4 separate regions of the Homo sapiens genome follow, and regions 1, 2 and 4 are each linked to region 3. Evidence: promoter capture Hi-C in 16 types of primary human blood cells and fetal thymus (Javierre and others, 2016). All regions are on one chromosome and are shown on one strand. The core of a region is centred on a gene start or on the middle of the fragment in contact, and the rest is flanking DNA. Distances in the headings are between cores, read along the strand shown. Region 1 holds the start of SRP72 (signal recognition particle 72). Region 2 holds the start of NFXL1 (nuclear transcription factor, X-box binding like 1). Region 3 holds the start of DANCR (differentiation antagonizing non-protein coding RNA). Region 4 holds the start of EXOC1 (exocyst complex component 1).

Region 1 (4,003 bases), core at 1,262-3,761, 3.8 Mb before region 3:
TATTTTTTTGGAGCCTAGGTATAACAGTAAAGAAACTTCGACTGAGTTATTCTTGCTACATCCTCCAACGACTCATAATTATGCCCCACAACTCTCTATGGTTCACCTCCTTAGCGGTTCAAAGGAAACACAGTGGTTAAAAAAAAAAAAAAAAACTCTCTAAGGCTGAAAAAAACAGAAGTTACTAGTATTCCTTCCAGTTCAGAAACATTATTGACAAGCAAAAGGGGGGAAAAAAAGGAAGGAAAAAAACGTTAAAAAAAATCAGCAAATAGTTGGGAAAAAACATGGAAGAGATTATAGCTATAGTAAGTGTTTCTAATAACTGTACAAGCAACTAACTGAATCACTTACTTGGCTAACACTTTGGTGTGAGTATTGATGACATTCAAAGCTTCCTTGAAACTTCCATTCTGGATAAGGCATACCACTTTACAATGCAGGGCAGTTACGTCATCTTTGTTGATCTGTAGTACTAGAGAACAATTTTAGGAAAAGTCATTTTTAAATCCATTTCCTTTTCACATTTTTACTAAATTTTCCCACCCTGTCTCTCCGAAAGCTAAATTTCTACTTTTATTGCAACAGAAATAATTGGTCAGAACAACTGGAAGAAACAGCAACAAAACAAAACAAACCCAGAAAACAACTAATCTTTGCTTTTAACTTAAGAAGTGACAATAAGGAGAGTTATAGATTAAATTTTCAATGAGATAAAGATTCCCAATATACATGTACCAAAAAAGTGCAGTGAAATAAAGAAGAAAGAAGCAATTTCTCCAGATATTTCATCTTGAAATGCATGCTACATTCTACATAGTTCATTACTTCACAGGGAAAAAGTTCAGGTAGAATTTGGAAGCAAATGACCTAGGTTTGGTGCAAGCTTGCCACTAAATGCTTTGAGGTATTGGGCATATCACTTAACAGCCAAATCTCAGTTTTCTTAGCTACAAAATGATTAGAAAAGCATTACCTATTTAATAAGGTTACTGACAATATGAAATGAATATTTTGGAAAAATCTTATAAAGTATAATACAAAGGCAATTTATCTTGCTGGCAACGTTTCCAAAAATCATTAAAATTTCCCCTTTTCAACTAAGATGACCAAAGTATAAGGAAGAACTCAGGTGGCAAGTTTCAACGCTAACAACTGTTCGGTGTTAAAATGACCAGGATCATAGTTACTCTTGCTCCTGTGCAACTACAGAAGTCCAATTCTCAAAGAATCACAAGAATTTCTACCAATTAAGAAAACATACTGGTAAACAAGTTGACAATCTTTGCTGATTAAAGAATTCCTGCAAAATACTATACTAAGTATACAGTACTGGTTGGAAGGCTAGAGTTAATTCAAACAAATTTAGGGATCAAATAATTCTAATTCGTAGCTATTTTCCTCAATGTCTGAAATCACCAAAAGTGCACTGTGGGCACAATCACTACTTTTCACGTTAACCCAGTACTAGAGTGTTGAAAATTACTTAGATAGCTTTGCATGTTACTGACACACCTTTTAGGTTACTGCTACTCTGAACAGCTAAGCCCTGCCTTGGTAATTACATTTCCAAATCTAACATGCACAGGCTGTATCTTCAGTAGAGAAGAACTGCGCACCACCGAGAACATTAAGCAGCATGGCCATATTCCAGGTATGTAGTAAGGAACAAAAGAATATGATGAATTAAACCTCACACCAAAGGCGGTAAAAACCGAAATCATCCCTTACAGGGCAAAAAAACAGGCCAAACTTTTCTTCCGACATTATTTCAAGTGTTGGTGCTTCCACACACATATTTCCTAACTTAATAACACTGAAGAGATCTCATCTATGGGAATGACAGGCCTGACATCCAGATCCAGCCCTTTCCTCTCGCCCCGTAGAACCCGTACAGCTTCCACCTGGTTAGCACCAGCCTCTAAACTACGTGTCCCAAGCAGGTTCCTCCCCCTTTAGCGGCCAAAGAGAACAAGCTCCCTCAGCAATAGAGTCCTGATCACTGCGCTCAAGACGAAGAAGAAAAGGAGGCACTTTGGAATATTTGTGAAATAAAGCAGCAAAGGAGTCAAATAAGAAAACAGTTTGAAATGGACTCCGGGAGCTGCGGTCTCTTTAAAACCTTCCCTCGCTTCCCGCGGAGGGTAAAAAGAGAAGTACACGTGGCTGTAAGCAACCAGGGACCCCAGGCTGGCCTGGTGAAGCCGAGGAGTGAGACCTGCGTCTTCCGGGCGCTAGGGCCCGAGCCGGGCGGACAATAGACGGGGGGGTTTCGGGGGTCTCCCCTTCCCGTGCCTCCCGCGCGAGGTGGTCTCGCGCGCCGGAAACAGGCCGCATCCTCCAGCCGGCCTGGGCCCGCCCCAGTGCCCACCCCGACACTTACTCTTATTGACGGTCTTGAGAGCGCGCGTGAAGTCGCCGTTCTGGCCATACCGGTTCACTTCACTCCACAGCGCAGGTACTGACACCCCCCCGCTGCCGCCGCTCGCCATCTTGGAGGAGACGAGGGGCGGGGCGGGGAGACCTCTGCCCCGGAACAGGATCTCCGAGGCAGCCAAGAGGAGGAGGAAGTCGATGATTGCTAAGCGTCGCCGAGTTGGGAGTGTCTTCAGCCCTAAGGCAGCATCAGAGATCATAATCTTCTGCTCTCGTGGCAAGAAATTTGTGCGGATAGAGTTGATACACCTCACTTGAAGTTGGCCTGGAGAAAAGAGGCGTCGGACTCCTGGACGGGGTTGGGAAACGGTCACCAGTTTCGGCTCAAAGCAGCCTGTTTCCAGGAGACCGCCATGGTCGAGGCAGCGTCCTGGTCCCACGGTGCGGGGCCGGACGATCATTTATGGGATATAAATAAAAGGACTATGAGGTGGTAAATAAAAGACTACCAACTAGAAGCCATAGGGAGTCATTTGAAGGAGAAATAGGCACGGCTCATCTGTGGTTGAGGGAAAGGGATCTTGAAAGATGATTAGGAGAACTTGGGTTCTGGGGAAAGTGCGGGAAGACATTCTGGCAGAGAAGCAAACGTGAGGAAAGGTAAGAAGGCAAGAATCTCCCATTACAAAGGGTTTGGTGAAACCCTTTGCCTGTCCTTTTCGCTCCCTTCGGGAGCAGTCGGCAATAAGCTGGAAGGGTAATGGGGTGAAAATGCCCGTGGTCAGTTCCCTGGCTCTGCGACTCACTAGATGTCTGACAATAAACAAGTTACTTAGCTTCTGGGAGTCTGTTTTCCCGATTGTGAAATGGGGATACTATATTTGTTCTAGAGATATAAAATATTAGGGTTTGCTTGCGACCGTTAATATCAAGATGTGTTCAGATGTACGAAGGGAATGGATATCTGTTGGGTACACTTGATGTGAGTGATTTTTTTTTTTTTTTGAGACGGGGATCTTGCCGTGTTGCCCAAGCTGGTCTGGAACTCCTGGGCTCAAGCAATCCTCCCACCACAGCCTCCCCAAGTGCTGGGATTACAGGCATGAGCCACCACACCAAGACGATGTGAGTGATTCACTTGATGTGAATGTTGTATTTCATTGAATGGCCTGCTCTTCAGACTCATATCTCGTCATGACCTTTACAACTTCTACTACTTCCTGTGTCCCTCAGGAACCTAGCTTTTTTTTTTTTTTTTTTTTTTTTTTTTTGAGACGTAGTCTAGCTCTGTGACCCAGGATGAACCTCACTGCAATCTCCACCTCCTGGGTTAAAGCGATTCTTTTGCCTCAGCCTCCCAAGTAGCATGAGCCACCACGCCCGGTTAATTTTTGAATTTTTAGTAGAGATGGGGTTTCACTGTGTTGGCCAAGCTGGTCTCAAACTCCTGACCTCAAGTGATCCGCCCTCTCTCAGCCTCCCAAAGTACAGGGATTACAGGCGTAAGCCACCGTGCCCGGCCTTGCTAACTACTTTTTGTCTTTCAGTCTTTCTGGTTATACGTTGAAAGTTACTTTGAGGAAACATTTGATCTTGCAGACTGGGCAGCCTTCTGGTTGCATCCTCT
Region 2 (3,826 bases), core at 127-2,626, 4.8 Mb after region 3:
ATAGAAATTTATGGTTAAAATAGAAGAATTAACTAAGTTGAAGGACTGTACAATAAGCCATCAATATGTTTCTCAATCCCAGACAGACCCCAGAATGAATTTTTGCAATCTACCTGTCAGTATATATGCACATGTATCTTATTGGAAAACTCAGCAAAATCATAAGATTTAGGTCCTGGCCCTCAACTATTTTCCTTAACAAAATCTACTTTAGGGAGATGCTGTGAAGGTAAAAATTAGCATGTCCCAGGGAAAGCTCATTGCACACTACAAAGGACTATGACAATAACAGGCTTTAGATTTATTTTCTACATTGGCTCTAGCATTTTAGAAGGGTACTTTTACTACTCAAGCCACTTTCCTGCAACTCTCCCCCGAATTTCCCTCCTTCACAGTGGCCAACCTCAAAGCGTTTTCAATGTAAGTGCCTTTCCTGTTAGTGAGACTTCCCTATGAAAATAAATAGTTTAAAGGTTGTTGGAGCCTAAAACTCACTAAGCCTGGAGAGAGATGTGACTGTCATCTGAGTTACACGTGGTTACAACTTCTGTTTCTCAGATTATAGATTAACTTGCTTTCTTATTTTTCTTGTTCTATACAATGGCTAGAGAGAATTAAACGAAGTTAAGGACAAAAACTTCCTGCCTTCTTAATGATCCTTATAGATTAACTTCTGCTTTGTTGCCCCGGTTTGCTTAGACCAGATGACAGAAAATCCTTTATGAAAAATGTTAAATGTACACTTCCCAAAAAGAAACACTGTCTATAATCAAATTGTTGTAACTATTCTCTAACCTTGTATGAGAAAATGCTGTAATCCTGCTAAAAAACCTCTCAGTTTCTGCCTATATAAGTGAAATCTTAAATCTCTACTTCGGAACGCTGACTCCTTCCTTGGAGTCGGTGTTTCTAGGTAGGCTATCCTCAAACTTCGCGCTTTTGATTATTTTACATTGACACCTCCTGTCATCCGCAAGCTCAAAGGCAAGGCTAATAAAAGATGGCAGAGAGCCAATTAGGGACAGAGCCATGTAATCCTCATACCCAGGTGAGTTTAGGGCAGTCTTGCAGAAGCAGAAGCAAATTGTGGGGTCACGAAACCCTCCGGACCCGCCCGCCTCCACCACCACGCGCCCCTATGACCTTCGACCCCTCCCTAGCCCCAGAGCACGCCGGGAGTTGTAGTTCCCAAAGGCCTGTTCGGGCCAGCGCAGGCGCTTGGGGTTTCCCTCCCACCCAACCCCCGCACTTTACCGGATAAGGAAGCGGCCCGTGCTGCCACGCAGTCGCCGGAACGCGGGCGGGGGCTTCTGGGAGTTGTAGTCTGTTGGGGGCGTGCGCAGTCGGTAAGGAGACGTAGCTTTCCGTGGGGTGTACCACTGCAGTTGGTTCCCGGCGGGAGACGCAGGGTCAGTCTGTGACTCTTCCCCTACCACGCTCCCGCAGAGGCTGAGGAGGCGGTTTCGACTTCTCCTCCGGCTTTCTGTCTTCGGCACTGTGTGCTTCTTGCTCCGCGGTTTATTTCTGTACCTAGTCCTCCCTCCCCTCTTCGGTCCATCTCCAAAGCCCGGGCTTGGCGGGGACTCGCCCTCCGGTAAAGGCAGGGCCGCGACCTCCTAAAACCCGGTCGCCGCCCTGCAGGAACCTTCCTCACTCGGCCCCTCACACCGGGTTTCCGCACTGACCCTCCTTCGCCTCGGTCCTCGCTGCGCTCACCTCCTTCCACTCTTTTTTTTTTTTTTCTCCTTTGCAGGGATGGAAGCTTCCTGGCGCCAGGTGGCCGGTGGCCGAGGCCGATCCCGGGGACGGGCCACTGCCGCCCCCTCAGGAAATGGAGTCCATCTCCGCGGCGCCGGAGGAGGGCGAGAGAAGGGGTCGGTGGGCGCAGTTCCTTCTGGCACCAGTCCCGGAGGAGTCGCGACCACGGCGGCTGCAGGGAGCAGGCACAGCCCCGCAGGATCCCAAGCCCTGCAGACTACCGCAGCCAGCGGTGAGAATGGCTCCCGCCCGCGTGCTCACCTGGATGCCTCCTAAGGCAGTTACTAGTCAGGACCGCCTCCGCCCTCGCCTTCTTTCTTTCACTGCTTTTCCCCTCGTTCGGGAGTTTGTTATCGGGCCCACTTCTCCAGCCTTTCGGGTGGCTGCTCTTTTCGGCACTCTAGGTAGATTTCCATCGCACCTCTTTCATCTTAATTTTAGGTGGTATTACCTTTGTTACTTCCCTCCACTCTTGCCTACTTGAATCTCCAGACCATCAGTTGTAAATTGTGGCCCGGTGTTCTGATTTGGTCTATAATGTTGTTTGGTTAACACAGAGTTTTAAATGTGGATTGATTGTCAGCGGTTGTTTGTCGTTTTTAAAAATCTGGTTAACAACCTTGTGGCTTTAGTTATCTTTGTGCATGGCAACAGTCAGCTCGGCTGAGTCACAGAAATCCCATTTAGATTGGACTTGGGCATTCCATCTCACATTCTCTCTCATTTCTGGAGCCAGGTGTCATTTGTCATCTTTACCTTTGCCTTTGTTTCTTGACTTGTCTTATTCCTTGTAAGCACTTGAGCTTTTGATACCTTCCTTGACTGTAGTTCCTATTTACAAATTCCATGTCCTTCTGTGGACATATCTGGTGTTGCCTCCGATATATCAATACTTTTCATCCAAGACCATGTTTTCGTGGAGCCAGGGAGGACTTACACACAATTGTGCATGGGGCCGAGGGAATAATCCCTGAAATCATTTTATTTTTGTGTTTGGAATGCATTTCAGGATACATTTTTTTGGGGGGTGTGGAGCAGAATTGAGTATCTTGAATGATTTTTCTCCTAGGCTAATTTGAAAGGTAGGTGGTATTCTCTTAGCATGCAGTTAATGGCCGTGATGATAAGGTATACAATATGGAGACGTGTGAACAGGTTTGGTAAACTTTTTTTTTTTTTTTTTTTTTTTGAGACAGAGTCTCGCTGGTCGCCCAGGCTGGAGTGCAGTGGCGCAATCTCGGCTCACTGCAAGCTCTGCCTCCTGGGTTCAGGCCGTTCTCCGGCCTCAGCCTCCCGAGTAGCTGGGACTACAGGCGCCTGCCACCACGCCTGGCTAATGTTTTGTTTTTTGTTCTTTGGTTTTTTTTTTTTAGTAGAGACGGGGTTTCACCGTGTTAGCCAGGATGGTCTCCATCTCGTGGGTAGAAGGAAAACAAGCATTCTGTCCGGGCGCGGTGGCTCAAGCCTGTAATCCCAGCACTTTGGGAGGCCGAGGCGGGCAGATCATGAGGTCAGGAGATGGAGACCATCCTGGCTAACAGGGTGAAACCCCGTCTCTACTAAAAATACAAAAAATTAGCCGGGCGGGGTGGCAGGCGCCTGTAGTCCCAGCTACTCGGGAGGCTGAGGAAGGAGAATGGCGTGAGCCCGGGAGGCGGAGCTTGCAGTAGCCGAGATTGCCCCACTGCACTCCAGCCTGGGCGACAGAGCAAGACTCCGTCTCAAAAAAAAAAAAAAAAGAAAGAAAAGAAAAAGAAAACAAGCATTCTCTACCTGGACAGTTGAGATTTGGCTGTAAGAAATAATACGTGAGAAGGTTGTCTTGTCAGCTTCTCTTTACTTTGAGATGATGTTAGGTGAATACATTTATCAGGTTATGAATGTTCTCATTATCTCTGTCCAGTTCAGCCTGTTTTCTTATGTATCTTTTAAGTGCTAATTTCCCGTATATTAATGACATTTATCATCTCTTTTGTGACAAGTTTTGAGTTATATATCTCATAGCCAGTTCTTTTTTCCCAGTACTCAAAGCTTGCTAGGTAAGCATGATACACATTTTCGTCGAGGT
Region 3 (4,143 bases), core at 107-2,606:
AGTTGTGACAATTAAATGAAAAGGTTGAAAAGGTGAACATGAAGCACCTGCTACACTGCCCTGTTGCCACCAGCATTGTCACTGCTCTAGCTCCTGTGGCACTGCACGGACACGTGGTTGCTACAAGTTAGTACGCATATTTGGCCTTATTAGAGGCACTTTCCTATTGTAACTGAAGGGATAGTTGGCTTAAGTCAATTGAAATACCAGCAACAGGACATTCCAGCTTCAATGGCTTGTGCCTGTAGTTGTCAACCTATAGAAAGAAAAGTTTTAAAATGACGTTTTAACCAAAGAAAACTGAAATGTATTGCTTGTTCTATAAACTGTAAAGAAAATCACAAAGGCGCTCAAGTTGTAACGAAACTTTTTCTGGTTCAGTTGTGACTCCAGACAGGATCCAAAGAGGAGCTTTCCAGTCTCTTCTCTGGGTTTTATGGAGACTTACTTTACCCTTCTGTGTTAGCCTCTTAAAGCACTGGGTCAACCTTAAAAGGGCACAGGAAAGGGTGCTTTGTGATTTTTTTTCTTTGATTTTTACAGGGTTCACTACTATTTTCCGCGTTGCTCTCAATACCTCGTGGATCTCTGCTTCTCTAAGTCTGAAACCACACTAGAAACACAGCTGTTTTGTTTGGTGAGCCCCTACATGGATGTTTCCTTCCAGTTAAGGGGAGCCGGATTCGGACCTTGGCGACAAACAGACGCCGGGGAACCCTCCGGTCCCACTGGCCACGTGCTCCAGGCTGACTCATTCCTTCCCCCACCCCGCTCAAGGCTAGGAACATACCTGCGCTAAGAACTGAGGCAGCTGCACTTCCGCAGACGTAAGAGACGAACTCCTGGAGCTCAAGGTCGGCTGGGGTTGGGTTCCTGTCCCGCACGCGTGGCCCGCCCGAAACCCGCTACATAGTGGCGCGTCAGCCCTGGGGAAGCAAAGCGCAAAATTGTTACGGTGCCCAGACCTGCGCCGGGAACCTCCGGCTGTTCCGCTGGGCGCGGCGCCTGTGCCTCGCGCAGCCCCGGGACGGGCACCGCCGCCCGCCCCCCGGGCCGCCGAGGGCTGCTCTACCCCTCCGTTCTGGCCGCCGGGAGCAGAGGAGCTCGAGGCGGGCAAAGCTCGTGGGGACACCGGGCGAGCCCAGCCCCTGATCGGACCCACGGGCCGGCCGGGCGCCCTCCCCGCGGGAGACCGAAAGCCGAAGACTGGAGATGCACTCACCGCGCAACTCCAGCTGACAAAGAGGCCTGCGACCTGCGACGGGCGCACAAACCAGAGAGGCGGCGCGGGGCGGGGAGGGAAGCAGGAGGGTCGCGAGGCCCGCAGCCAATCCCGGGAAGACTCTGGGCAAGGGCGGGGCGCGCAGCCGATCCCCTGGAGAGGTCGGGTAGCTCAGCCAATCCCGGGAAGATCCTGAGCGGGGCGGGGTGGAGGGCCGCGGCACGCACAGCCAATCCCGGATGGGGCGGGACGGGCCCGGCCATTGGCTGTCGGTGTCCGGGGCCGGCCTAGGTGTGGCTCATGCAGTAGCACGGGGATAAGCCATGTCTGCGCGCGGAGCATCCTTCTCTGAATTAGATTTTTCAGGCTACCTACCAATCCCCGGCGTTGGTGATTTTGGTGCTCTTGGGCCCTAGACCCTTCCTCGGGTGCCCTTCTGGAGAGGGCATCGAGGTTACTCCAGGGTTGGCCTAAGGCCCTGGGATTCCCTTTCTTAAAGCCACACTAATCCGGTGTGTGTTCATCATCTGTGTCCGCCTAAACCGTAAGCTTAAAGAGAAGCCACGACCATGTCTTGTTCAACAAGCTCACTCCCGTGGCCTCTCCTAAAGCTAGAAGGACTACCTCCTTTCCTCATGCTCCCTCTTTATTCATTTACAGAGTCCAATAAGTAGACCATAATCAGCTGGAGGGTAGGAGTTGGGGAGGTTGAGAAGGCAACCATAGCAATCTCAAGGTAACAGGCTCAAACTTGGCAAACAAATAAGTAGAAGAAAATTGGAGTATATGCTAAAAGGAGAACTTCTATTGCTGTTTCACGTACTTACCATCTGCTAACAAATCTAATCCTCAAAATATATTTAATCATCTCCAAATTATAGATGGGGAAATAATTATGTTATGTAACTTGCCCAAAGTCACAGAGCAGCTAGCCAGTGGTAGATCCAGGATTTGAACTCAAGCAGCCTGAAGGCAGAGCCCCTCAAACAACATGCTACCTAGCCTTTCCCCAGGTGTTGGGGGTGGAGCAGGAAGGGAAACCAAAAAATAGCCTACACTTGGTTAACAGATCAAGACAGGCAGCTCTGGTGGGGTGTGGCTTTGTAAACAGAAAGAACAACTCGTCCAGAGCCCCAAGATAAAACAGGAAAGGGCTTTACCTGTTTAAGGACTCCCAGAAATGGAACTTAAGGAGCAGAGTGGCCTGAGATGAGAATGGCTTGGGGCCAGACCATGCAGGAAACCCTGGAAGAGTTTTTTTGTTTTGTTTTGTTTTTGAGATGGAGTCTCGCTCTGTTGCCCAGACTGGAGTATAGTGGCACGATCTTGGCTCACTGCAGCCTCCACCTCCCAAGTTCAAACTATTCTCGTCTCGGCCTCCCGGGTAGTTGGGATTACAGGCATGCACCACCATGCCTGGTTAATTTTTGTATTTGTGAAAGAGTTTATACTTTGTGCTAAGAATGATGGAAAGCTGTTCAAGTGTTTTGTTTGTTTGTTGTGTGTGTGTGTGTGTGTTTTAACAGGGGAATGATAGGATCTGATGTAGGGTGTGGTTTCGGGTGTGATTAAGGTGGTTTTGGTGGGAAGAAGAAGTTGAGTAAAATTTACCAATAAACCCTAGCACCTAGTCATCATCTTGCAGATATTCATAGGATCTTGTTGAAATTGGAGAGTGAATACCAGTTTGTTGTCCCTTCACCTTTCTCAAGAGTCTTCCAAACATATCTCTAGTTGGAATCTGTTCTTTTTATAGTCCCTTTGGATAGCTGAGAGATATTACCTTTCCTTTAACTATGGCAATGCATGTGGTCAGGCAACATGGGAAAATATAGGAAAAGAGAAGTAAATCTCCTTAGTAAAGAGACTAATGCAGGAATTCAGCAGCAACCTAGCAGGGGCTGGGGGTAGTTGTGCAGAATGTCTTCCCTCCTCCCCAAATCAGGGGATAAAAATGGGAAGGAATTATGAAAGAATTATATTTGTGTTTGATTTAAGAGAAATTCACCTTAATCTGAAGGCTTCACATTTCTGGCCAAATACCTCAATTCAATGAACTTACAAACAGTTCATTCGAAATAGTAAAACTGTTCACTGGGCTTAGAGGAGAAATGTCTATTAAATACAGAGACAATAGAACAAAATAAACTGATTTATAATTGCTTTTGAGTTAGGTTCAAGATAATATATATTTGGTACTAAAAATCCTTATAATGCAGTTTAAAGAGAATTGTTTCAATTGGGTTTATTATTAGGCCTAATTTTTTTAGAGAAATTAGTATGTCTAATCAATCCTTCTTTCTTTCTTTTCTTTCTTTCTTTTCTTTCCCTCCCTCCCTCCCTTCCTTCCTTTTCTTTTCTCTCTCTCTCTCTTTCTTGCTCTCTCTCTCGTCTCTCTCCCTCTCCCTTTCTTTTCCCTTTGACAGGGTCTTACTCTATCACTCAGGCTAGAGTGCAGTGGCACAATCATAGCTCACGGGTCAGGCTCCAACTCCTAGGCTTAAGTGATCCTCCCACCTCAGCCTCCCAAAGCATTGGCATTACAGATGTGAGCCACCACGACTGGCCAATCTGTCCAATTTGAGGGAGTTCAGTCTCTCCAAATTTAATCTGTCGGAAGTTGAATAAAGGGACCTAGAAGAATACCCACCAGCCCTCCAGATATTCTCAGCTGGATTTCCCAGAGACACCACAAAATCACTCTTTTGGCCCAGAATTTATTCTCTTCTTCCACCCCTCCACTTCCTTTTTGTGTCCTCTGTCTTGAAGAATAACAATTCCTTAGCCCAGCTGTCCAGGACTTAGCGCAAATGCTTTCCTTTCTCAGTCTCCTCCTCCATTTCTCAGCCTCCTACTTCCTCATCTTCTTCCATGCGGGCAGTTCTTCCTATTGACCACCATGACTCTGCCTCTTCTTTCCA
Region 4 (4,377 bases), core at 1,374-3,873, 3.1 Mb before region 3:
CAGCTGATCTTGTTTTTATCAATCTCCATAAACTGTATTATTTTCTTCACTTCTCTTGGACTACCAAATGCCACTTTCAAAAGCCACATATCCACGCTCATTGCGTGCATTACAAATATCTACATCCAGTGAAAGTTAGACTTTCAATGCTGCTCGGCAATTAATCCCTCATTTGATGATTCCTTTTTCCGTTCCCCATGACTATTGTTGTAAATCCTTATTACTCTCCTTCAGTTTCCAGGTCTAGCAGTTAGCCTCCTCCCGCTCTGCAAATGACTTAACAATCTACCTTGCAGAGGATATAAAAGCCATGAAATACAATTATCCCCAATTGCTTGCTTCTCCGTCTCTCCACACCTTCACCCAACCTCTCCTCCTTTTGGCTTATTATAGAGTGTCCATGCTGCTAATCCCTTAATATGTTGTAGGGCCCAGACACTATGTTATATTTCTTCCTAAGCCCAAGCCACAATGGCACTGGCCAGTTTACTTTTCTATCTCTGGGCTTTTGTTCATGCAACCTTCTTTTCCTAGAATTCTCTTCTCCCTAGGAAATTACAATTCATCCCTCAAGATTGTGCTAAAATGTCATCTTTTCTGTAAAGTAGCCCCCTCCCTGCAGCCGCCCCACGCAAAGAGTAATTTCTACCTCTCTAACACTTCCCCTCTACTTCATAAATACGGCATTTATGAATTGTATTTTCTAGCTAGCTGTATTTTATCCCCTATTAAAAGTAGGACCATGTCTTAATCATCTTTGTATTCCTAGAACTTGACAAACTAGGCATTTAACAAATGCTTAAATTCACTAACATGACAGCTATAGCTCCTCCAAGATTCCCCTTTCCTAACTTTCACATCTATAAGCAAATGTCCAGGTTCAAAATCTACCATATTTGCTTCCCTATTCCCTTATCAACATGAAATCTGCTACCACATTCTGCGATTTCCCCCCATCTACATGTAATTTATTCCTTTCTTTTCGCACTGCAAATATACTGACCCAGGTTCATATCAACTTTACTTAACCCTACAAAATCTGGTTCTCTTTGCAAGGTCCCACAACCCTGAACAACAAGATAATTTTAAAAGACAGTTTGTATCACATCACGCTTTTACTCAACGTTTTCCTAATGTTCTCAAAAACATTCCACTCCAAACACTCTGTTCATTTTGGACATCAAATCTTCACTTTGGTACTTTCCATGTAAGGAATATCATCTCCGCCCTATCCAAACCCTAATTACACTTCATGGTTTACATGAAGTTGATTCAATGAAGATCTTAATCCAAAGTGATCTCTCCTCTAAATTTCTACAGCACTTACTGCATTTGCCGTCTAATGGGCTCATTAAATCATAAGCTTCTCTATCTCAAGAATTCTCTTAAAGAAGGGAGGGATGTTCATCATAGTTTTGTGTTTAGTGGATACTTAAATATCTATTAAGGTAATTAGAACTGAATAGTAAAAACTGGTCAAATGAATAATAGGGACCAACGTTTACCACATACTCCTTCTCTGGCTAAAAGCAACTGAGTGTACAGTAAGAGGCAAAACAAGACAGGATTGGGCATACCTCATAAAGGAGTTAGCCATAATGAAAAGCAGTATGTGACTCTTCATTCATTCAGCAAATACTCATGCTTATTAGGTGGCAGACACTATTCTAGGTTACAGTAGTCAACATGACAGATATGTTTATGAAGACCTGAAGCCGGGTGTTTCTATGGCATTTACATCCTAAGAGTCGAGTGATTAACTCTTCAGTCTTTACGGTACTTTTCTGAAAGTCAGTAAATAAATCCCTAGAGGTCCTCTAAAATTATTCTCCAGGTCTGAGAACCCATATCTGACCACGTTCCAAAGGCAGCCATCCACTGCTTACTCTGTACTGGTTGTTTCCTTCAGCTCAGTTGGACCACCACACTGTGTGACAAATAGCCTGTCAGTGTGAGTGCCCGTGTGCATTGGGCCCTGTATGCTGCTGAGATATATTAATGCATGAAGCATTGCCATCTAGAAGATATAACTGTGCAAGGAAATAGAGAAATACACTTAAGAGATTTGGCGGGGGGTGGGGGGGAGTTGGGGTTGGGGGGCCGGGATGTGAATTTGGACAAAGAGGAAGGCACAGTCACGCTCTCCTCTCCTGGACCACGCCAAAGAGCTTACGATCAGGGTCATTTTGCACAAACAAAATCTGGTTCCGATGGGCGGAACCGTAATGGGGCCCGTGAGGACTGCCCTCCCAGCTCCGCATTCTCCTAGACCCGAGGACAAGGGACTGGAGAATGCTCTGACCAAACTTCGTCTTACCGGGACAAACGGGGAAAGGAAGGTCAGAAGGAGCGGTGCCCGACCCCAGGCGTGGAGACAGCAGCCGGACTGAGGAGCCGCCTTAGACCCTGGTGCCTGTCAGCTCGTCTGTCCGCCGCCGCCGGGACTACCGGGCAGCCGCGGCCGAAGGCTTACCGCAAGGCCGGACTGAGCCTGGCTGTGCCGAGGCGGGTCTTCCAAAACGGAGACCGGATGGGGGCCACTAGGATACGCCCCTCAATAAAGCGTTGAACGGGAAGCGGCCGTTCCCCCAACACTTCCTATATCCGGGCACGTGACAAACTCCGCGCCGGAAGTTGACCGCGTAGAGAAGGAAGAAGCAGCGATGGGAGAAAAAGGGAGCGGCCAATAGACGCGGAGGGGCGGGGCGCCAACCGACGGGCGTGGCCAGGCGGAACAAGGCCTCATTGGAGGGGCGTGTCAGGGAAGGGCAGGGGCGGGGCCTTTGTGGCACAGAAACTGACTTGGGAGTTGGGGATTAAGAGTTATTTATTCAGATATTTGCAGCAATTCATTTAAGAAGAAATTCGATTAAATGTTTTCTTTTTTCATACGTAAAGCTCTATTAACTCTAGATCTTTGCTACTTAAACTTTGGAGAGCTTAAATGAGTTAAATCAGAATCCCTGCGGGTGGGACCCAGACATCAGTACTTTTAATATCTTCCCAGATGATTCTCATATGCAGCTAAGGTCAAGAACCATTGTCCTCATGACCTTGATACTCAAAGTGTGGTCCGTGGATCAGCTGCTTGGGTATCATCTGGGGGCTTTTTAGGAAATGCAGCCTCTCTGGCTCACTTCAGATCTACTGAATCAGAATCTGCATCTTAGCAAGATGATGCTTATGCATATTTAAGTTTGGGATGCATAAATGATGCCAATGTTGCTGGTTGCAGGTAGGTGTTTTATTTATTCAATATTCCTGGCACCTTTTTTTTTTAATGCTAGGCACTTTGATTCCAGGTACAGAGGTGATTCAGGCATGAATCTTAACCTAAAGGAGTTCACAGTGTGGTAGGACTAGACAAGGTGTAGGTACAAATATATATAAAATAGGACACAAAATAAGTGACCAAAGAGAGGTACAGATCAGATAAATGTGCTAGAAATTTAAATGAGCAAACAGTAGTTAGAATACTTTTCACTTTCATCAAATGACTTCCCTTTTAAGAGCAGGATCTGGTTATATCTTTACAAAGACCCTTTCCTGCTTGGCACCGGAATGCTTACTGTGGACACTCTATGACAATTGCATGTGTTTTTTGGTCCTATTATCTTTCTTTTATTTACCTGTATGTTTATAGCCCTCCTCAAAGTTGGGAAATGAATTGCATTTCAGAAGCCTAGATCTCTTTCTTGAACCTCAAGATTTGTGTATATACTGCCCATCGCCTGACATTTCCACTTGGATGTCTTATAGACACCTCAAACTTGTGTGTCCAAAAATTAAATTATCCTCTCTCCTCTTGGATTCCCTGCAAAGTGACACTTATATGCAATAGTTTATTTGGAAATTTGATCCCAGGGAGCAAAATGAGGGAAGAGGAAGAAGACAAAACAAAAAGGGAGATGCAGTATAAGAATGTGTTACTGAGTTGGTCATCACCATATTTGAATGTTTTCTTAGTCCCTTAGGACCTTCTAAGAAGCTTTATGAAATGAGTCTCAGAACTGTCCATTAAAGGAAAGAACGGAGGAAGCATTTGTATGTCGGCTCCTGTCCTCTTTGATCGAAGGTTAATGCCCTTGGGCATTAACTACTTCACACTTACAAATCGCACAGTTGTGAATGCCAAGCTGACTCCCACATCAGAGACATGCTGGGGCAGGAAGTGAGAGGAGAGGTGCTGGTATTTCGCACTTGTTCAAAGGTCATCAAACCTGCTCCGAGCAGGTTGCTGCAGCAGTGGTTAGAATAATAGGCTGAAGGGATTTGAAGTCATGGCCTAAGTTGCACAGAAGGACATAGAAGGTGTCCATATCTTGCAGCACTCTGATCTGCCTGTGTGCTCTGTTATGTTCAGTCCTTCACAGAGGT

What was found. Contacts are between HindIII fragments. The CHiCAGO score rates a contact against its expected background, and 5 or more counts as called.
Region 1: the fragment with the promoter of SRP72 here is called in contact with the fragment with the promoter of DANCR in region 3 in 1 of 17 cell types (naive CD8 T cells); the score reaches 6.4 in naive CD8 T cells.
Region 2: a contact is called between the fragment with the promoter of NFXL1 here and the fragment with the promoter of DANCR in region 3, in 1 of 17 cell types (activated CD4 T cells). The highest score is 5.4, in activated CD4 T cells.
Region 4: the fragment with the promoter of EXOC1 here is called in contact with the fragment with the promoter of DANCR in region 3 in 4 of 17 cell types (activated CD4 T cells, naive CD8 T cells, total CD4 T cells and 1 more); the score reaches 6.1 in activated CD4 T cells.

The regions. Positions count from the first base shown.
Region 1 is chr4:56,466,125-56,470,127 of GRCh38, reverse strand. SRP72 (signal recognition particle 72) reads right to left here and starts at 2,511. Exons shown (of 19, transcript NM_006947.4): 1 at 2,384-2,511; 2 at 355-475. The coding sequence starts at 2,492. It overlaps LOC124900706 (a long non-coding RNA gene), which reads left to right and starts at 2,570. Exons shown (of 2, transcript XR_007058126.1): 1 at 2,570-3,036. RefSeq lists an enhancer at 2,457-2,666. The HindIII fragment of the contact is 5,513 bases long and covers 889-4,003 here.
Region 2 is chr4:47,912,133-47,915,958 of GRCh38, reverse strand. It overlaps NFXL1 (nuclear transcription factor, X-box binding like 1), which reads left to right and starts at 1,376. Exons shown (of 23, transcript NM_001278624.2): 1 at 1,376-1,594; 2 at 1,754-1,990. The coding sequence starts at 1,756. It overlaps LOC101927157 (a long non-coding RNA gene), which reads right to left and starts at 1,732. Exons shown (of 3, transcript NR_125879.1): 1 at 1,255-1,732. RefSeq lists enhancers at 1,396-1,625, 1,136-1,821, 1,822-2,508. The HindIII fragment of the contact is 5,032 bases long and covers 1-1,764 here.
Region 3 is chr4:52,709,607-52,713,749 of GRCh38, reverse strand. It overlaps DANCR (differentiation antagonizing non-protein coding RNA), which reads right to left and starts at 1,356. Exons shown (of 5, transcript NR_145129.1): 1 at 1,223-1,356; 2 at 791-926; 3 at 208-256. MIR4449 (microRNA 4449) reads right to left here and starts at 1,068; the gene lies at 1,003-1,068. It overlaps SNORA26 (small nucleolar RNA, H/ACA box 26), which reads right to left and starts at 501; the gene lies at 380-501. RefSeq lists an enhancer at 673-722 and silencers at 973-1,542, 717-1,550. The HindIII fragment of the contact is 6,853 bases long and covers 1-1,773 here.
Region 4 is chr4:55,851,894-55,856,270 of GRCh38, reverse strand. It overlaps EXOC1 (exocyst complex component 1), which reads right to left and starts at 2,623. Exons shown (of 19, transcript NM_001024924.2): 1 at 2,318-2,623. RefSeq lists a silencer at 2,732-2,831. The HindIII fragment of the contact is 2,625 bases long and covers 1,366-3,990 here.